Regions from separate parts of the Homo sapiens genome. Here all the other regions are linked to region 4. Evidence: promoter capture Hi-C in 16 types of primary human blood cells and fetal thymus (Javierre and others, 2016). All regions are on one chromosome and are shown on one strand. The core of a region is centred on a gene start or on the middle of the fragment in contact, and the rest is flanking DNA. Distances in the headings are between cores, read along the strand shown. Region 1 has its middle 210 kb from the start of MIR128-2. Region 2 has its middle 290 kb from the start of STAC. Region 3 has its middle 260 kb from the start of MIR128-2. Region 4 holds the start of STAC (SH3 and cysteine rich domain). Region 5 has its middle 79 kb from the start of DCLK3. Region 6 has its middle 54 kb from the start of DCLK3. Region 7 has its middle 230 kb from the start of MIR128-2.

What was found. Contacts are between HindIII fragments. The CHiCAGO score rates a contact against its expected background, and 5 or more counts as called.
Region 1: a contact is called between a fragment that was not itself captured here and the fragment with the promoter of STAC in region 4, in 1 of 17 cell types (megakaryocytes). The highest score is 6.1, in megakaryocytes.
Region 2: a contact is called between a fragment that was not itself captured here and the fragment with the promoter of STAC in region 4, in 1 of 17 cell types (megakaryocytes). The highest score is 5.3, in megakaryocytes.
Region 3: a fragment that was not itself captured here is called in contact with the fragment with the promoter of STAC in region 4 in 1 of 17 cell types (megakaryocytes); the score reaches 10.2 in megakaryocytes.
Region 5: a contact is called between a fragment that was not itself captured here and the fragment with the promoter of STAC in region 4, in 1 of 17 cell types (megakaryocytes). The highest score is 5.0, in megakaryocytes.
Region 6: a fragment that was not itself captured here is called in contact with the fragment with the promoter of STAC in region 4 in 2 of 17 cell types (megakaryocytes and M0 macrophages); the score reaches 5.8 in megakaryocytes.
Region 7: a fragment that was not itself captured here is called in contact with the fragment with the promoter of STAC in region 4 in 1 of 17 cell types (megakaryocytes); the score reaches 10.2 in megakaryocytes.

The regions. Positions count from the first base shown.
Region 1 is chr3:35,953,029-35,955,728 of GRCh38, reverse strand. No RefSeq gene overlaps it. Among named protein-coding and RNA genes, the nearest start is that of MIR128-2, 210 kb to the right of the region's middle. The HindIII fragment of the contact is 544 bases long and covers 1,077-1,620 here.
Region 2 is chr3:36,092,771-36,095,470 of GRCh38, reverse strand. No RefSeq gene overlaps it. Among named protein-coding and RNA genes, the nearest start is that of STAC, 290 kb to the left of the region's middle. The HindIII fragment of the contact is 177 bases long and covers 1,324-1,500 here.
Region 3 is chr3:36,003,390-36,006,089 of GRCh38, reverse strand. No RefSeq gene overlaps it. Among named protein-coding and RNA genes, the nearest start is that of MIR128-2, 260 kb to the right of the region's middle. The HindIII fragment of the contact is 1,274 bases long and covers 653-1,926 here.
Region 4 is chr3:36,379,115-36,381,814 of GRCh38, reverse strand. It overlaps STAC (SH3 and cysteine rich domain), which reads right to left and starts at 1,311. Exons shown (of 11, transcript NM_003149.3): 1 at 1,061-1,311. The coding sequence starts at 1,171. All of the region lies in intron 2 of LOC124906227 (a long non-coding RNA gene), which reads left to right. The HindIII fragment of the contact is 3,341 bases long and covers 683-2,700 here.
Region 5 is chr3:36,684,013-36,686,712 of GRCh38, reverse strand. It overlaps the pseudogene RN7SKP227. Among named protein-coding and RNA genes, the nearest start is that of DCLK3, 79 kb to the left of the region's middle. The HindIII fragment of the contact is 251 bases long and covers 1,154-1,404 here.
Region 6 is chr3:36,709,692-36,712,391 of GRCh38, reverse strand. No RefSeq gene overlaps it. Among named protein-coding and RNA genes, the nearest start is that of DCLK3, 54 kb to the left of the region's middle. The HindIII fragment of the contact is 1,381 bases long and covers 570-1,950 here.
Region 7 is chr3:35,974,320-35,977,019 of GRCh38, reverse strand. No RefSeq gene overlaps it. Among named protein-coding and RNA genes, the nearest start is that of MIR128-2, 230 kb to the right of the region's middle. The HindIII fragment of the contact is 9,312 bases long and covers 1-2,700 here.

The DNA.
Region 1 (2,700 bases), core at 99-2,598, 430 kb after region 4:
ACTTTCTAGCGATCTTGACAACTCACTAAAAGTGTGCTGTTAGCCCCATGACTATACTGATTCCGCAGCACATGCTGCAGATCACCTCTGGGGACCAAGGAAGCACAGGTGAACCAGTACTCAAGTTCTAGTCCTTATGGCAACCCTTAGCCAGGACCTAGATTCCTTAAATTTTGGGGTATTACAAAAAACACAGGTTTGGAAGTGAAAATTTCTGCGGTCTCACCAAACCACCAAAGTTAAAGTGGCTTTGAAAAGCAGTTTAATCTCTGATTCTTGATTTCCTTGCTGTAGCAGTGGTAGTACCTCCCTGGTAGAACTGAGGAGGCTTTAGATGTGAGAATGCATGTGGAAGTACACGCTGAACGATGCCATTGGTGGTGGTGTTCAGGAATGGCCCTCTGCCAAGTGCTGGACCCATTTCTCCACATCCTGATTTTCCTTTCTCCAGGGTGTTTTATGGTTTTGTGCAGCACAAATTCACCCTCTGGAGGCTGAGCCTTATTCTCAGAAATCTTTATCTCATGCCTCTCAGCACACACAAAATTACTTAAAGATCCTTAGATTTAAATGAGAATGATTGATATATTTTGTGTTTTAACACTTGGGGAGGTATGCTTTTAAATAAGATAAAGTTTATCACAATAACTTACTGGTAGTGATATTATAGGAAAAATGAGGGCCATTTTCTTCTGTAGGGTTTTTCCCAGGAGAGCTACTGTTGTCACTAGTATTGCCTACTGTACATTTATATACACATATGTGTGAAAGTTCCTAAGACTATATACAACATAGGTTCCCACCCCTTGGAAAAAGCAACTGAGAAAATTTCTGTGTAAGAGTGAAGACGGGCCATCACTCCTGAGCTAAGCAGGGAAACCAGAACAAACAGTGACTTGCAATCAGGAAAAAATTTCCTCAGGATAGAGAACATGACAGAATAAAATAAAAAAAAATTATACTTGCATGTATAATTTAAAATCTGTATCAACATCTCTACTTCTTTAAATAGTAATTAAAATGTTTTGAATTCTTCTTGGCTAATGCATGTATTCAGAATATAAAATAGATAAGCTTTGAAAGAAGACATGTGTTTAAAAATAGAAAAGCAAGATTAAGGCAGGAGGTCCCTCCTTGTGCTCTGGTTTAACACAGTTGCAAGGGAAAGAAGTGCTGACATTTGAAAGCTGCAGGGATCTTAGTTCTGGAAAAGCAGACACTGGGTCTTACTAGCAATGAAATTTAATACCCAGATCTTAACAGGTGGACAGGCTAAATCTGTGATATACTATTTAAACTTTTGTGTTTAATGCAGGAACTGGAATAGTGTGCACCATCAAATACTCTGTAAATGTTCACCATCATTGTTATTGGCCATTTTAAATGTGTTTTAGACCCTAATCTGCCTCTCAGCCTTCCCTTTGCACCATTATTTCTCTTACTCTCAGTGCGCTGTCCACATTACTCTTCAATCAGTTCTTCCAATAAACTATAACATTTTTCAACTTTAGAACCTTCTTTCATGATTCTTTCCCTACCCAGAAATCTGCTTTCTTTACTCAACTAACATTTTCTCATACTTAAGATTTTATCCCACATTTTTATTTCTTTGCACAAGCTTTCCTGAGACAAAAAAAGAAAAAAAAAGATATTTAGAATGGACAGAGAGAAGATGCAGTCCCCAGACTGAAGGGGAAGGAAGCTTGGGACCCTGCATAGGGTCACTGAACACCAGGACTCATTCCTGGCCCATAGCAGCTTCTAGGGAAGGGCTGAGTAAAACAGGCATGTAATGGTGCACTCTCACCATGAACCTCCAGAATCCTAGCAACAGGAGATCCCATGACCCCCACAGACACCTGAGCTAGCAAGGAGAACTGCCTGGAGAATTGACAGATAAATAACTTCAGCCTGTGCAGAGCCCAGAAGGTTTGGTGTGGGAACAGCTGCAGTGGAGCACAGCCATGTGTGTTCAACCCCCAAAGCTCACCATACTCTAAGGGGCTTTAGACTTTGTTAGCTACCAGGCTTGGACAGAGCAGAGCTGTCTTACCTGTGAGACAGGAATAGTCTTATCTGAGCACTTGCCTGTCTGCCAGCCTCTCGCAGAGTCCCTGCTTGGCTGCACCCATGCAGTACAGCCTCAGCTTGCCAGTGGCCGCCACCAGAGCTCTTTTGCCAGCAGACCCCACCTACCCATCAGAGCACTTTGCAGATGGACCTCCACCAGTGTGCACTCCCTCACAGTCTCCCCACACTGCCCCACTGGAATGCATACATGTGGGTTCTCTCTGCCACCCTGCTAGCATGCATCCATTCACAGACCCATCTCCAGCACACTGCTGGCACACACATGCACAGGGTCCCACCGCCACCTCACTAGAGATTTTGCTGGCAGCCCCTGTTGGAGTGTTGTTGCTAGTGTGCTGGGAACACCTTGGCCCCTCCAGTGCAGCACATACTAAACTCAAGGGCCCAGAAAACAAAGTCACAGGCCTGATCCCAGCTGCCAAGATTAGAGCATACAGCCGAGGAGTGCTGAGCTAAGCCTTGGCCACCTGAAAGGATCAGAAATAAAGCCAATTGACTAAACCCAATTTATAACACAGTCAAACTCTCATGTGCATAAAAAATATATATAAAAGCAAAAAGTTCCATCCAGAAGACAGCAACCTCAAAGATTAAAGGAACATCAGCCCA
Region 2 (2,700 bases), core at 163-2,662, 290 kb after region 4:
CAAGAGGCAAAGTCAGCTCAAGAGTTTTTCTTCTTCTCTCTTTCACTTTCCTCTGTCTTTCACTTCCCATTTCACTTCCTTAAGATTGCTTTCTGACGTAGATTACCTTCAGCAATTTTTTTTGGATCGTGCCTCTTTTTTATTACAATTTTATTCTGATACAGGCTCTACTTTGTAATAACATTTAATTTTAATGCAATTTCAATTAAAAATTTTATTGTGTATATTTAAGCTTTACAACTTACTATTTTGATATATATAGTGAAATGATTACTTATAGTGAAGCAAATTAACATACCCATCACCTTACATAGTTACCTTTTCTATTTGTGTATGTGGTAAGATCACCTAAATCCTACCTTCCTAGCAAATTTTCAGTGTACAATACAATATTAGTTAATAACTAATAATTAGTTAATACTTAGTTGGTATTATTAACTAATATTGTGTTATACACTGAAAACATACATGTTATTGTTTCACACTGTCCTTTGCAGGGGGAACCAGTCTCCAGTATCCTTGCTCCTACCCACATAAGTGGAATTCTCTTACTTGAAACTAAACTGATCTTTTGACTTGGAGAACTCGAGGCATTCTATACTGGTATTTATATTAGTCTTCCTACTCGTCTGACAATGGTCTTCAACCTGCATTTTGCCACCAGATTTTTTGCCTTGTGAAGTTATCTGGTCAGTCACTCAGCAAATACTTGTCATATTATTTCTACCATAAACCCTTCCTGGAAATTCAGAAAAGATACTGTACCTGTGGCCAGACAGTTTAGGAAGCAGTGAAAGAATAGATATGCAGATAAATAATTTACTAAAATCAGAAGAATGAGCTTTAACTTATTCTTTTGTGTGTTGGCGTGTGTACACACATTTTCTCCCACAATTATATAACAAGAATATAATAATATAAAAACAGGAATATATATTATTCTTGTTATATAAATGTGGAAAGATTTTCTTCCTGTAACCGAGGTTTGGGTCTGCAAGGTAGTATCTTTCTGCAGGTTTTCAGGTACCTGCTCCTCTAAGACAGTTGTTATCAAACTCAAAGGAGCATCAGAATCACCTGGCAGGCTTGTTAGAACACAGATTTCTGGGCATACCCTCAGAATTTCTGATTCAGTAGTTCTGGGTTCAGGCCCCCAGATTTGCACCTTTAGCAGTTTCTCAGGTGATGCTGTACTGCTGTTTCTGGACCACACTTGAGAGCCACCTAAGAAGAAAGGGTCATTGACTGCTCTTTCCTCCAACCATTCTGGAGGAATCCCTTCATCAATGGTTTATTTAGAATCCTGAAAAGACTGAGGAAGCTTGTGAACTTTATTCCCACAGTTCTTGTAAGGAAAGATCTTTGAGACCCATTAATTGTACCGCTTTGAAGCCATCCTTACCTCTTTTTTATTCTCACCAGCAGAATGCATGTTCATTATTCTCAAAATGACCTGGAAAAATTCCATTCATGACCACAATCTAGGCATCAAATGAAGCTTTCCTCATTAATCTTCCAACTCTAGGCGCATAATCTCTATGACCACCATCCTTTTATGTGCTTCAGCTTTATCAGGAAAATTGTGGAAGGCTTTGAAATGGGCAAGAGCACATTATTTTGTGTCCTGTCTAGGTCATCCATCAAGGTTATCGCCCTTTTGTATTATCTCTGAACTATTTTACAACTCTAGAAAATGCACAAAACATAATCACGCAAATGATTTGTGTCCATAGAAATGCAAACTAATTGCATCTGGTGGAATGCAATTATTGACCATTGGATAGAGTTATTTTCATTTATTTGCAAATCCATTTCAAAAATCTGTTTCTGCTCTCTGAATTCTCTGTTGAATCAGCTGTATCATCTTATTGGTTCTCTCATTAATTAATGAGATAAATACAACGTTTGAATCTTTCACACGTGTTCATTTTTTATTTGTGTGAGCCATAATTATGCTTTCTTTAGAGCATTATCTATTGACAACAATACCAATCATCATATTGAATTCTAGTGGTTTAGTTATATTTAAAGCATCCCTCTGCTCACCTCGCTGTAAGCTTCTAGAACTCTGACACCATATTTATCTTTATATTCTCAGATTCTATCAGTGTTTACAGTGAGTGTTTAATAAATATTTGTTAGTTAAATAAAAAGCATGTTGCTTTAGGACAGAAGATAGAAAATGAGAAAAGTAGGCAGAATCTAGTTTTTAAAGGTTATTAAATACCATTTTAAAGAGTATGAGCTTTATCCAGAGGGTACAAGTTCCTGAGGAACCATTGAGGACTTTCAGATAATCAAATTTGCATTTGAGAATGATCCCTCTCTGCAACAAAGAGGTTGTATTTGAAGAAAAGAACACTGCAGACAGAAAGACCATTAAAAACTATTATAGCAAATGCACCGAAAGACCTTACATTCCATCTCTAGAAACTCAGTCATCATGTGTAAATTTTCTGTTTTCAGGGCATCATAGTTCCTCTTGCAGTTTCTGTCGCTTGGGATGGAGTAATTTGGTTTCCCAAAATCTTGGTACCATGATTGTGTCACTGTACTCAAATACATCTCTAGGTGGGTGCTGTCTGCCTAAGTCTTTTCAGATAGCTTCTTCATATTGTGGTAGATTTTCTGTTGTAGGAACACCCTACTGTTACAACTGGATTCCCATGATACTCCATTGATTGCCTGGCCACTCTTCTG
Region 3 (2,700 bases), core at 40-2,539, 380 kb after region 4:
AGCATATTTTGAAGTCTGGTCGTGTGATACCTTCAGTTTTCTTCTTCTTCTTCTTCTTTGTTTTTTTAAATAAACCTAGATTTTACTTTAAGTGCATTATGTCATGATAAGTAATTCAGGATAATATTTTTTTAATTTCTGGGTTTCCAAGTTATTTGGAGTTTTAGGAAAAAGGGTATGGCCAATGGCATTAAGGATAAAGCACCACAATGAAAGACTGAGTCAATTTCAGAAACTAAAGTAGAAAATTGAGGAGCAAGGTAGGATCACTTGAATGCACTTTCGTTAGGATCCTGGGAGAGCTGCATCTCATTGTTAAGCCTACCTGGTTCTGATAAAAAAGGACCATTTACCACGAATAAGGATAGAAAAAGAGGGAGTAGGGTTGTCAACAGAGAAGCTGCCAGGAGCTTTGAATATTGTGTATGTGCCTTCACTGTCACCACATTTATAATTATATCCTGGATGCAGAGCCATTGTACTGTCCCCAGAATTTTGGCACATTTTTTAACCACTCTTGAATTGACTTAATTGCTGATTTCTGAAATTTTCACTTTAAAGATTCATTCATTTGGCTTTAAAATGCAAATCCCATTATTATTCATACACTAGCATGAATAATTGTAGTATTTTGATTAAGACTGATTAAGCTTTCCATTCATCAGGAAAAAATGTAGATGCACTACATATATTATTTGTATTTTATGTTACCTTCTAAATAGTAGTTACAGAATTCTAACTATTAAATAAGGTGTTTCTCAGAGTCCAAAATATTGTCTGATAAGAAAGTGAAAGGAAACAGTAAACAAAGTAGAGGTTCCACTGTCTAGGAAGACTGAGTAGTTTGTTAGAAAGATAATTTAGTGTATCCTAAGTGTTTTTATTTTGTCTTGGTTTTTATTCTTAACTTTTAAAATCCATATAATCACCTATAGAAATATTCCACATTTCTGATTTTAGATGACGTTAAGTTCTTCATGATAAAGAGAAGTCTAATGGTTGGGTTCAGTTTGTGAAGAACATGCAGGTATCAAATATCTATATCTCTTTCTTATTTATTATCTCTAACATGTTATGCAGCCTTATAATGGGATATCTTTTATGACTCTAAATATATGTGTCATAAAGTTGATTGAATGTTGGATTCAATTAGAGTTTTGGTTTCATCATGAGCATAAGGTAGTAGGATAGGAGATCAAAGAACTTGAAGATAAATAAGTCAGGTTCTACCAGAGAAGCAGTACTATATGATATTATTAACATACATGTGAAACAATACATTTAAATATAAGGAATCGGCTTATGCAATTGTGGAACCTGGCTAAGAAAGTAAAATTCCATAGGGCAGGCAGTCTGGGAGGCAAGATTATGGGCAGGCTGGAATTTATGGGCACAAGCTGAAGCTGTTGTCCACAGACAGTCAAGAAAGTAAGATTTTAAACTAGATGTAAGTCTATGAACAAGGTCCAAAGCTATTATCCACAGGTGGAATTCCTTTGTACCTTGGAGAAGTCTCAGTAAGGCTTTTATGGCCTTCCAGTTGCTTCAGTCAGGCCTACTCATATTATCCAGGATAATATACCTTACTTAAAGTTACCTGATTAGGGAGCTGAATTAGATTTGCAAAATACCTTTACAGTAACACCCAAGTTAGTGTTTGATTGAATAACTAGAGAAAATAACCTAGCCAAATTGACATATTGTAAAAGCCATCACAGAATTAACAAAGGGAGAGGTCATGTGACAGACCACAGTTTCTTCTTTGGATAATCTCTAAGGACATAAAGATTTATTTCCAACATCTTCAACTCATTCTCTCTGCTAGATTTTTTTCTTACTGACGTATTCTCAATTTTCTTCATTATCTCACATACCACCTTCTCTGCTACCCACCTAAGATTAACTTCCATATGAGCCCATGAAGCTTCTGAAATACTCCCACTTGTCACCACAGACATAGCTTTTTCTCGGCATAACTGATCATCAGCTCCTGTCACCAGAAAACAAATACATAGAATTAGTCAATGTGATAAGCTTGGAGTGATCATAACAATTTCTTTCATTCCAAAACCCATCCTCACATTCAATCAGTCATCAGAGTCTAATTTACTCATGCTTTTTTTATTTTCCTATTTTAACTTATTGCCAAACAATGCCGTGGAAAAACAAATTAAAATTTTCAATCCTCATGACAATTTGTGTATTATATAAAGAGAACAAAAAGATATATGTATAATTCAAAAAGTACAATAATGGAATAGATTTGTTTGAGCAAAGGAATAATCTAAGTGCTAAAGTAAAATGGCTGCATAAAAATCATGATACACTGAAAGAAAAGTCTTATAAAAACATATTAATATATTATCTTATAAATCAGTCTATTACAGCTGTTTTCTGTTAGCATTATTTGAAATTATTAAATATAAGCAATTTCACTACCTTGCATTCTTTATCTGAACTCTGAAAGTATACTTTCTCTCAACAGTAGCTTATTATTGGTTATGGCAAAAACATTACAGGTAAATGTAAGTCAAAACCTTGAGTTAAGTGAATTTACCTTCCCTTAGCATTTGCTGTTGGTGAACTTTTATATGCCTCCTTGTTTAGTCTTTGTTTTTAACAAAATTTTTGTTAATAACATACTATTGATAATATTAAGCCTTAGCAAATAGCCAAACTAAAGAAAGGATTCTTTAAAGT
Region 4 (2,700 bases), core at 62-2,561:
GGCTGGGAAATGTACAGTGCCCAGTATCACACCAAATCCCCAGAGCCACTCAGGCTGTGATTTTCATCCTCCTGATCATATCAATGGCTTCCAGGGATGCATGTGAAGAGAGACAGGATCGCAGTCTTCCTTGCCCCATCTGGCCTGTCCCTATCCTATAAACTGGCAACCCCTTTCCTTTGCTGGTATACACGGACTGCCTCACATTCCCCAAATGCCTGGGGATCGCACAATGAAATCAGAATAAAGAGCCAGGAGCTCTACACTTAAAAGAATCCACATAACTACAAACTCCATCTTAGGATTTCCACCACCAGCTGAGTTGCCATTTGGCATTGCACTGCTAGCAGCCACATTTTACTCTATCCTCTTCCAAGATTTTCAAACATGTGCCTGGCACCCACGGGAGTTTCAGAGGAAGTGTAACAGTGACAGGAGAACTGCTGCGGGCTTGGTTTTTTGTATACGTGTTAGTGTAACTTTCATAAAAGCAAGTATAGGTTCTTAGAGTATTAACTTTCACAAGAGGAACATCAACTTTCAGACAAACGCAGGCAAACCCTTTCTTTTTCTTTTTCTTTTTTAGTGAGTAGTATCTGAAGGTAGGGGTGATCCCTGTTAAGCAAAAGGTCTCTGAGACCCTTGGGATACATACATGCTTTTCTGGCCCAGTACTCAAGCTTTTCTGGAAGAGTATCCCTCGGCTGTCTCCATCCCTCAGCCTTCAGAAGCCACCTAATACCTACCTACACGTGCTTTGGACACAAGCAGGTTCAAAGCACAAAAAAAACCAAGCTACCACCCCGCAAGAAATCGATCTCTGAACCCGGAGCCACCATGAATTGCGTGTGTGAATGTGTGGGCGGGAAGGCTGGGTCCACAGGGACGTGGTCCAGCATCGTGAGCAGCGGGTCCTACCGGACGTTCAAGTCCTACAGCCCTGGGCTAACTAGCAAGTCTCAGACCCCCACGCCCGTGCTAGATAGGAGGAGAGACAAAGCTGGACCGACAGGAGAGGAGAGTGAGTTTGTGTTCTCTTGGGGGCAAGCGTGCTCGGTACCTTGGATTCCTGGCTGCTGGTGGATGCAGGAGAGGGCGGTTGCTCGGCGCCCACCGCCTCCTTGGGCAGCCCGTCCACGCCGTCCTCGCGGGGGCTGCTCGGAGGGATCATCGTGGCCGCGCGGGAACGGTGTTGGGCTCCCGGAGGAACAGCGAGGCTTCTGTCCTGCGCGCCCTGCCCGCCGCGCGCCAGGCTGCTCAGCTCCGGGTCCTGGGGACTCCCATCCTCGCCGAGGCGCCGACGTGCCCTCCTCCAGCCTCGCTCCCTCTCCCTCCCCGCCCTGCCCACCTCCCCGGCACTTCCGCGGGCGTGGAGGAGAGTGCGCCCTGCCCCGCCCCGCCGCGCCCGCGGCCACCTCGCCGGCGACCTCACAGTCGTGACTGCCACTCGGCAGCGGGCGAGCGGGCTTCTGCTCGCCCGCAGGAGGAGGAAGGAGGCGGGGAGGCAGCTCCAGGGCGGGGCTGCGCGGCCAGCGCCTGGAGTAGTGAGGGCAGGCAGGGGGCAGCGCCCTGGAAAGGGCTGGGGGAAGGCTGGGCGCACGCCGGCACTGGGTGGGGGTGATTCTTCAGAGAGGATGCTGAAAATTCAGACCCAAACCCCAAAGAATAGAAAATCTGTGAATGATATAGCCAGAAAGAGCCACTTGCAACAACTCCCTCATTCCTCACCCCAACGAATAGTGACTGAGACAGTGACTTAGCTAAGCTATTTATAGGGTTCAGTGACAGAGAGCAGGGGTCGGAGTGGGGGTCCCCTGACTCACGGGCACTGCGTTTTCTCCATTCAGCTTTGATCTAAAGCAGAGAGATAATGCAGTGTGTATATGGACACCTGTTCCTCGTTTGTTGTGCACTTATTGTACTAAACCCTTTCTTTTTACCTTATTTAATCCTCCCAGCTACTCTATGCGTCTAGGGATTATCACTTCCATTTTATAGATGAGGAAGTTGAGGCTGTAGGAAGACTGAGTAATTTGCTTTAAGTCACTAAACTATAATTGGTGAAACTGGAATTCGAACACATTTGGGCTTCAAAATCCATGCATTTCCGACTGTGGAGCCTCAAATCTAGGCCAGGTCTTGGCTGAAGAGCAATTGGATGTTGCAGTATAGCAAGAGTTGAGGACTGTTCACAGAGGGGCAAACCAGCCTGCCTTACTAAATCTTTTGGAAACATAGGAATAGCCCCACTGAATAAAGATACAGAGGGTCCAGTTTCTTTTGAAGACAACCTCAGTGTGCAGGGAAAAGAAACACACCTAGATATTTAAAAGCCTCTTTTCCCCCATTAATACAAAATACCCTCAATTTTTTAAAACAAAATTGCAAACTTCTGTTCAGATTTTTAAAATTAGCTGTAGATGTTTGCAAGAACAGCTTCATGGATGTGCAACCTGTGCAGTCACACAGGGCCCCGCGCTGATGCTGCCATCTTGAAATTCGGTAAAAATATTTAACAAGAGATCACATTTTCATTTTGTACTTGACCCTGCAAATTATGTGTTTGGTCCTGCATCCATGCCCTAGCTCATGTCTTTTAGAATAAACTTGCTCTTACTCTTTCCATCCCAGATGTCAATTGAAAGCTACTGTTCAATGTGTCAGCCTCTTACTCAGCATTTAGCTTTCAAAATGCTCTAA
Region 5 (2,700 bases), core at 30-2,529, 300 kb before region 4:
TGATCTTAGTGAGAAAACTGACATTTTCTCACCATTAAGTATGTTAGCTGTAGAGTTTTTGAGGAAGTTCTATTCCTAATTCACTGAGAGATTTCAAAAAATCATGAATGGGTGTTGGGTTTTGTCAAATGCTTTTTCTACATCTATTGTGTGTTTTTTCTTCTTTAGCCTGTTGATATGATGTATTGCATTAATTGGTTTTCTACTGCCAAACAATGTTTGCATACTTACAATAAATCTCACTTGGTTGTGGTGTATAATTCTTTTCATACATTGTTAGGTTTGATTTCTTAATATTTTGTTGAGGAATTTTGCATCTATGTTCATAACAGATATTGGTCTGTAGTTTTATTTTCTTATATCTTTGGTTTTTGCATTAAGGTAACACTGACCTCATAAAATGAACTAGGAAGTATTCCCTCTGCTTCTGTCTTCTGAAAGAGATTGTAGAGAATTGGTATTTCTTCCTAAATCCTTGCTAGAATTCACCAGTGAACCCATCTAGGCCTGGTTCTTTCTGTTTTGGAAGGTTATAAATTATTGATTTAATTTCTTTAATAGATAAACGCCTATTCCAATGGTCTATTTCTTCTTGTGTAAGTTTTGACAGATTGTGTCTTTCTACGAATTGATCCACTTCAATTAGGTTATCAAATTTGTGGACATAGAGTCATTAATAGTACTCTTTTATTATTATTTTAATGTTCATAGGATTTTTAGTAATGTCTTTCTTTCATTTCTGTTATTAGTGACTTGTGTTCACTCCATTTTTTTTTTTCTTAGTTAGCCTGGCTAACTAAGTATTTTTTAACTACTATTTGTTGAAGACAATATGCTTTCTCTGTTGTGTTGTCTTGGCACCCTTGCTATGATTTGACCTATGGATTTATTTTTGGGCTTTCTTTTCTGTTCCATTGGTCTATATGTTTGGCTTTATGTAAATATTTGATTATGTTATTATGATAATATACACTTAAAATATTATGTAAATATTTGATTACTGTAGCTTTGTAATATGCTTTGAAGTGAGGAAGTGTGAAGCCTTCAGCTTTGTTCTTCTTTCTCAAGATTATTTTGGCTATTTGGGGTCCTTTGAGATTCCATAGAAATTTTGGGATATTCCTTTTATTTCTGCAAAAAATGTGATTAAGCTTTCAATAGGGATTGGATTGAATCTGTAGATTACTTTGGGCAGTACAGACATTTTCACAAAATGAAGTCTTCCAATTCATGAACATAGGATGTCTTTCCATTTATTTATGTCTTCTTTTATTTATTTTAGCATCGTTTTATAGTTTTCATTGTGCAAGTCTTTTGTCTCCTTGTGTTTTTTTGTTTTTTCAAAAGAAAGGCAGACTGCTATATGCAGCACCTCATTTGGAAGTGTCTGGAGTCTTGGAAGCTTGACTACCCTACATTCTCCTACAAATGGACCTTGAGAGCTTGTTTGGAGGTTCTAACAGGAGAATGCAGCTTCTTGTATACCCTTGACTGAAGACCAGTACTTCTCTATGGGTGATGGTCGTCCCCTTCGACCAGTGCGCAGCTTCAAGAGAGATGCACATGGAGCAGTGAGGGAGAAAAGAGACACCTGCCTATCCAGCTGGATCAGCCAAATCAACGCTGGCAATCAATGGGGTGACAGATGTTGCAGTGAGATCACCCTCACATCCTTTTTGTCTCCTTGTTAACTTTATTTCTTTTTGATGCTGTTGTAAATGGGATTGCATCGATTTTTAAAAAATTTATTTATTTATTTATTTAGTTTTTTCATAAGTTGTTGGGGTACAGGTGGTATTTGGTTGCATGAGTACGTCCTTTAGTGGTGATTTGTGAGATTTTGCTGCACCTGATTGCATCAAATTTTGGATGTGTGCCCTAGAGGTGGCATTGCTAGTCGTGTGATAGTTTTATTTGTAATTTTTTGAGGAATGTCCACACTGTTTACTAATTTCATTTTTGAAGTGCTTATTTCCTAATTTCTTTTTAAATTTATTTTTTTAATTGCTCGTTTTTAGTGTATAGAAACACAATTGATTATTGAGTGTTGATTTCGTATCCTGCAACTTTGCTGAATTTTTTTATTTTTAATTCTAACAGTATTTTTGTGTGGAATCTTTAGGATTTTCTGCATATAAGATCGTGTCATCTATGAACAGAGATAATTTACTTCTTTCTTTCCAATTTCTGTGTCTTTTATTTCTTTTTTCTGTCTAATTGCTCTGGCTAGAACTTCCAGTACTGTGCTAAATAGAAGTGGTGAAAGTGGGCATCCTTGCCTTGTTCCTAATCTTAGAGGAAAAGCTATGTTTTTCACCATTGCATATGATGTTAGCTGTGGGCTTTTCATATATGATCTTTATTATGTTGATGTAATTTTCTTCTATTCCTAGTTTGATGGTTATTTTTTATCATGAAATAATTTTTAATTTTGTTAAATGCTTTTTATTCATCAATTGAGGTGATGAGTTTGCTAGTATTTTGCTGAAGTTTCTGCATTAATATCCATCAGAAATATTGCTCTATAATTTTCTTTCTTGTGGTATCTTTGTCTGACTTTGGCATCAGGGTAATGCTGGTCTCATAAAATGAGTTTGGAAATCTTCCCTTCTCCTTATTTTCAAGAAGAGTTTGAAAAAAATTGACATTGATTCTTTGAATGTTTCATAGAATTTTCCAGTGAAGCCATCTGGTTCGGGG
Region 6 (2,700 bases), core at 11-2,510, 330 kb before region 4:
CTCTATTTTCACTCTATTTCACCTGGCAACTTCATTTACACTCACTGTCTATTTGCAGATGAGCTTCTCCTTCCCTGCCCCCAGTTATGTTTCCATCCAAGGCTTCTCTAAGTTCTAGGCCCACCTTTCCAACTGCCTACAGAACATATCCCTGCACAGCCATCAGAGGTTCCTCTACAGCAGAATGCACAATTATCACCTCCAAACCTGTCCTTCCTCTATTTCTCCCTATCTCAGGGAATGGTGTTGTTCAGCAAGTTCAAAACACAGGCATCACCCTTGATACCTCACTCTCTGACTCCTGAATCAGTCCCTCCCCATTGATTTACTTCCTCAGTGTTGCTTGGATCTGTCCACTAAACTTTCTTAGTTTCTCTTCCATTGGACGTTTAGGCTGTTTCTCAGTAATTATTTATTCTTACAAACATGCTGTATTTACCATCCATCCTATATGCATCCTTTGCACATGTGTAGGAGAATTTCTTTTCTTAGATAGAAAATCTCCAACTTGATCAGATATTGCCAACTTGATTTTTTAATTTATCCTCCCATAAAGAGTGATGAAAGCTTCTTTTCTCTCATGGTTTACCACATGGTTTTGCTTTTTATTACTCAAATGATAATATTTGAACATAATTGAGAAATAACACAGAAGCTGTGTTGTTATTACAACAAAGCTGTGTTCAAAACTTTGACAATTGTGTAGCACTTAATATATAGCTCTTGGAGTGAATTCCAGTGTGTATCTCATTTCCACCCAGAACAATGGCACCACTGGCTATGATTCTCAGCCCTGCTTTACAGATGGGGAGACTGAGGCTCAGAGAAATAACCTGACTTGCCTGTCATCACTTGGTTTACAAAAAATGCCAGCTGCCAGATAAGCCCTGCAGTGCAGAGTGGCACCATCCCTTCCGTTCCCGGCCTCTGCTCTGTGTCTGATCCTGCAAGGCCAGATCCCAAATACCCATGGATAAGCAATACTAAAAAGACTCCTTTCTGCAACAGAGGTACTTTTTCTAGAGGCTCCTTTAACTCCAGCCCCAGTCCTTCCACTTCATGAGACCTGGAAGGCTGTGTTTGAAACCAGTGGCCAGTACTGTGGGGCCAGGGGCATCACATGCAACCCAATCACCTACAGATTTGTTGGGAGTTGATGGTGAATGTGGAGGTGGCTTAGGAGTCATGGTTGGTCCTTCCAAGGGGGACACTTCCAGTGGAGAAGCCCCAGGGGTGACTGTCAAGTGACTTGTGTTCTTTCTAGGGCTTGGCTCCAGTGCCTCTTGAGTTGGGCAATCATAAGGCAACAGCTTTGTGTTTCTTACCTGCTCCAGGTGGCACGGGAGTTTCTGATTCTCTCTTCCCCTGAAAACTCATGACACTGATGTGGAGGCTCTGGTTGCCTTATTGATCCCTGAAGCACCCACTATTCTGATCCTGCCCTGGGCTGAATTGAGTCTCCTCACTCAGTCATATCTTTCTCCAGGGAAGCTCACATCCGATAACAGGTTGATCTGGGTTAAAAAGGTCCAGTCCCCTTGCTTCAACTCAGGACAGCTCACAGGGCCATGCTGTAGCTCCATGTGGGATCAGACATGGCCTTGGTTTCAACTAGACCACAGTTAGCTCCTTCTTCTGCTCAGTCCCACGCTATTCATACCTTCTTCCCCAGCAAGTGCTGACACAGAACAGTCCCCAGTAAACTTCCTGCACACATGCCTCTCTTTCAGTGTCTGCTTCCCAGGGAAACCAGCCTGTGACTTTCTCATAGCCAGTGAGAATGAGCAGGAGGCCACTGAGCTTGGGGACCATCTAGCCCCTCTTGACTGGAATGGACCTGCCTAATGCTTGGCTGCCCAGACTGAGGCTGATCCCAGAGGACCAGGGCACAGATCGGCTCTGGGTCCAGGGCTCTCTGAGTGAGTGCACCCTGCTGGCTTTGAGGAAGCTTTTAGCCATGTAATCCAGGGTACCAGCAAACTCAGAGGGTTTGCAGAAATAATTCTGGTTTTCTTTATTCAAAAGAGGGATTAGAATGAGTTCCAGTGTGTGAGCAAGACTGGCTGGGCCTGTGTGAGTAACGAGGGTCCAGCTCTATAGCTGTGCTGAGGAGTGGAGAGCAGCTCACCCAGGTGGTGCTGGATGCTGCTGGCCAGAGTGGGAGGAAGCTGAGCCTACCTGGAGAAATCTGGGGACACGGGGTTCTCCCAAGCAGACCCTGAGACAAGGACATAGGTGGATAGTTTATTTGGGAGGCAAAACCAAGAAGTGTGGAGAAGAAATGGGGAAATGAGTCCAGGAAGAGAGGAAGGCCAAGAAAGAGTGCATTCACGTGTGAGGGCCGCTGTGGGCAACTGGAGCTCACGTCCACTGAGAGCGCTCTTGAACACACTTCAGAACTGTCTCATACTGGGCAAGAAAACTGGAGTTGTATCCACCAACTACTGTCCTTTGTTCTTTGAGAGTTTCTCTTGGTGTATGAACTCCCTGCCACTTCTGTCCTGTTTCAAGCCAGGCAAGCTTCCAGTATATGCCAGGTCCTTGACATTTTCTCAGAGAATCCTCAAACAACCTCATTGTATAGGTGTTATTATCCCACCCCAGCATCTCTTGCATGAATGACCATCATTAGAGTGAATTTTAAACAGAAATTTAATCATGTCGTCCTCAGCTTAAGATGGCTTTCCATTACATTTTAGA
Region 7 (2,700 bases), core at 185-2,684, 400 kb after region 4:
ATTTAGTGTTTAGTGACCAGTAGTTTGAAAACTGTGTTTCAGGCATGTCACTACCTCTAAATTTGTAAATTGCTACTATAAAAATTCACTTAACATTTTAGGGCCTCAAATTCCTTATTGCTGATTGAAAGAAATTTAATAACATTTATTGGTTTTCATTAACTATATTGTATTTATCTTTAATTCTATCTTAATTGTTATATACATTTTTATCGTGTACACGAATAATTGTTTCTTAAAAAACAAATGATATGCAAAGGCATTTAATGAAAACAATGCCTTTCCTCTTCCCTTTAATGGACAGCCATTTTTTAAAAATTGTAGCTTATCATTCAGCTATCTCTCTCTCTCTCTCTCTATATATATATATAATAGTATACTATTTTACATAATTCTAAATATTAAATTTCTGACATGACAGATATTAAAATGTAGCAAAGATTGGTCATGTGTTATGTGTTAATTGTTGAAACCAGGCCATGGGTATGTGGGGCTTCTTGTATTATCCTACAATTTATACATAACTACTTAAAATTCCACCCAGTAAATGAAGATTTCGTTAATGTCCTAGGAAATCACTTCCCCAGGACCTCCTGGACTGCTATTTGAATATTAGTTTTCTTTTTTTTTTTTTTTTTTTTTGCTTCTTGCATTGTTGAATTCTGGATTTAATTTCTTTTCTGATTAGTCCCAATCCTAAATCCCATCTCTTTCTGGTTTTTATTTTATATTTTACTTGTGCATATCCTCAAGCAATGTCCAAATAAAATATCTTTAATCCATCCTCATATGTCATTGAGAATGTGTTTTAGGAAAAAAATATGCTCTACTAGAACTTTAAATGGCATTGTCTAGCTTTCTGTAATGTTACTCGTAAGTCTGAGACCATAGTGCCTTTTGTTCCTTTGTCAATAACTATTTTCTCCTATCCAAATACTTTTAATATTTTTTATTATCCTTATAGTTCTTGATATGGTTCAGCTCTGTGTCCCCACCCAAACTGCACCTGAATTGTAATTCCCATAATGTTAACATGTCAAGGATGGGACCAGGTGGAGGTAACTGGATCATAGGGCAGTTTCCTCCATGCCATTCTTGTGATGGTAAGTGAGTCTCATGAGATTGGATGGTTTTACAAGCATCTGGCATTTCCCCTGCTAGTGCTCAATCCATCCTGCTGCCCTATGAAGAAAGTTCCTGCTTCTCCTTTGCTTTCTGCCATGATTGTAAGTTTCCAGAGGCCTCCCCAGCAATGCAGAACTGTGAATCAATTAAACCTCTTTCCTTTACAAATCACCCTGTCTCAGGTGTTACTTCACAGCAGCATGAGAACAGACTAATACAGTAAATTTGTACTGAGAGTGGGGCATTGCTATAAGATACCTGAGAATGTGGAAGCGACTCTGAAACTGGGTAATGGGCAGAGGTTGGAACAGTTTGGAGGACTCCGAAGCAGACAGAAAGATGTGGGAAAGATTGGAACCTCCTAGAGACTTGTTTCATGGCTTTGACCAAAATTCTGATAGTGATATGGACAATGAAATCCAGGCTGAGGTGGTCTTAGGTGGAGATGAGAAACTTGTGGGAACTGGAGTAAGGTCACCCTTACTGTGCTTTAGCAAAAAGACTGGTGGCTTTTTGCCCCTGCCTTAGAGATCTGTGGAACTTTGAACCTGAGAGAGACAATTTAGGGTATCTGGTGGAAAAAATTTCTAAGGCAGCAAAGCATTCAAGAGGTGACAGAGCATAAAAGTTTGGAAAATTTGCAGCCTGATGATGCAGTAGAAACAAAAACCCATTTTCTGGGAAAAAATTTAAGCTGGCTGCATAAATTTGCATAAGAAATGAGGAGCTGAATGTTAATAGCCAAGACAATGGAGAAAATGTCTCCAGGGCATGTCAGAGGCCTTCACAGAAGCCCCTCCCATCATAGACCCTGAGGCCTAGGAGGGAAAAATAGTTTTATGGGCCAGGGCCAGGGCCAGGGCCCCCTCTGTTGTGTGCAGCCTCCAGACTTGATGCTCTGTGTCCCAGCTGCTCCACCTGTGGCAAAAAGGGCAAAGTTACAGCTCAGGCCACTGCTTCAGAGGGTGCAAGCCCCAATCTTTGGCAGCTTCCATGTGGTGTTGGTCCTGCAGGTGCATAGAAGACAAGAATTGAGTTTTGGGAACCTCTCCCTAGATTTCAGAGGTTGTATGGAAATGCCTGGATGTCCACGCAGAAGTTAGCTGCAGGGGCAAAGCCCTCATGGAGAACCTCTGCTAGGACAGTGCAGAAGGGAAATGTGGGGTGTGAACCCCGACACAGAGTCCCCACTGGGGCACTGCCTAGTGGAGCTGTGCAAAGAGTACCACTGTCCTCCAGACCCCAGAATGGTAGATCCACCAACTTGCACCATGCATGTGGAAAACCCACAGACACTCAACACCAGCTCATGAAAGCAGCTGGGAGGGGGGCTGTACCCTGCAAAGCCACAGGGACAAAGCTATCCAAGGCCATGGGAGCCTACCTCTTGCATCAGCATGACCTGGATGTAAGACAAGGAGTCAAAGGAGATCATTTTGGAACTTTAAGGTTTAATGGCTGCCCTTTTGGATTTTGAACTTCCATGGGGCCAATAGCCCTTTTGTTTTGACCAATTTATCCCATTTGGAATGGATATATTTACCCAATGCCTGTACCCCATTTAATCTACGAAGT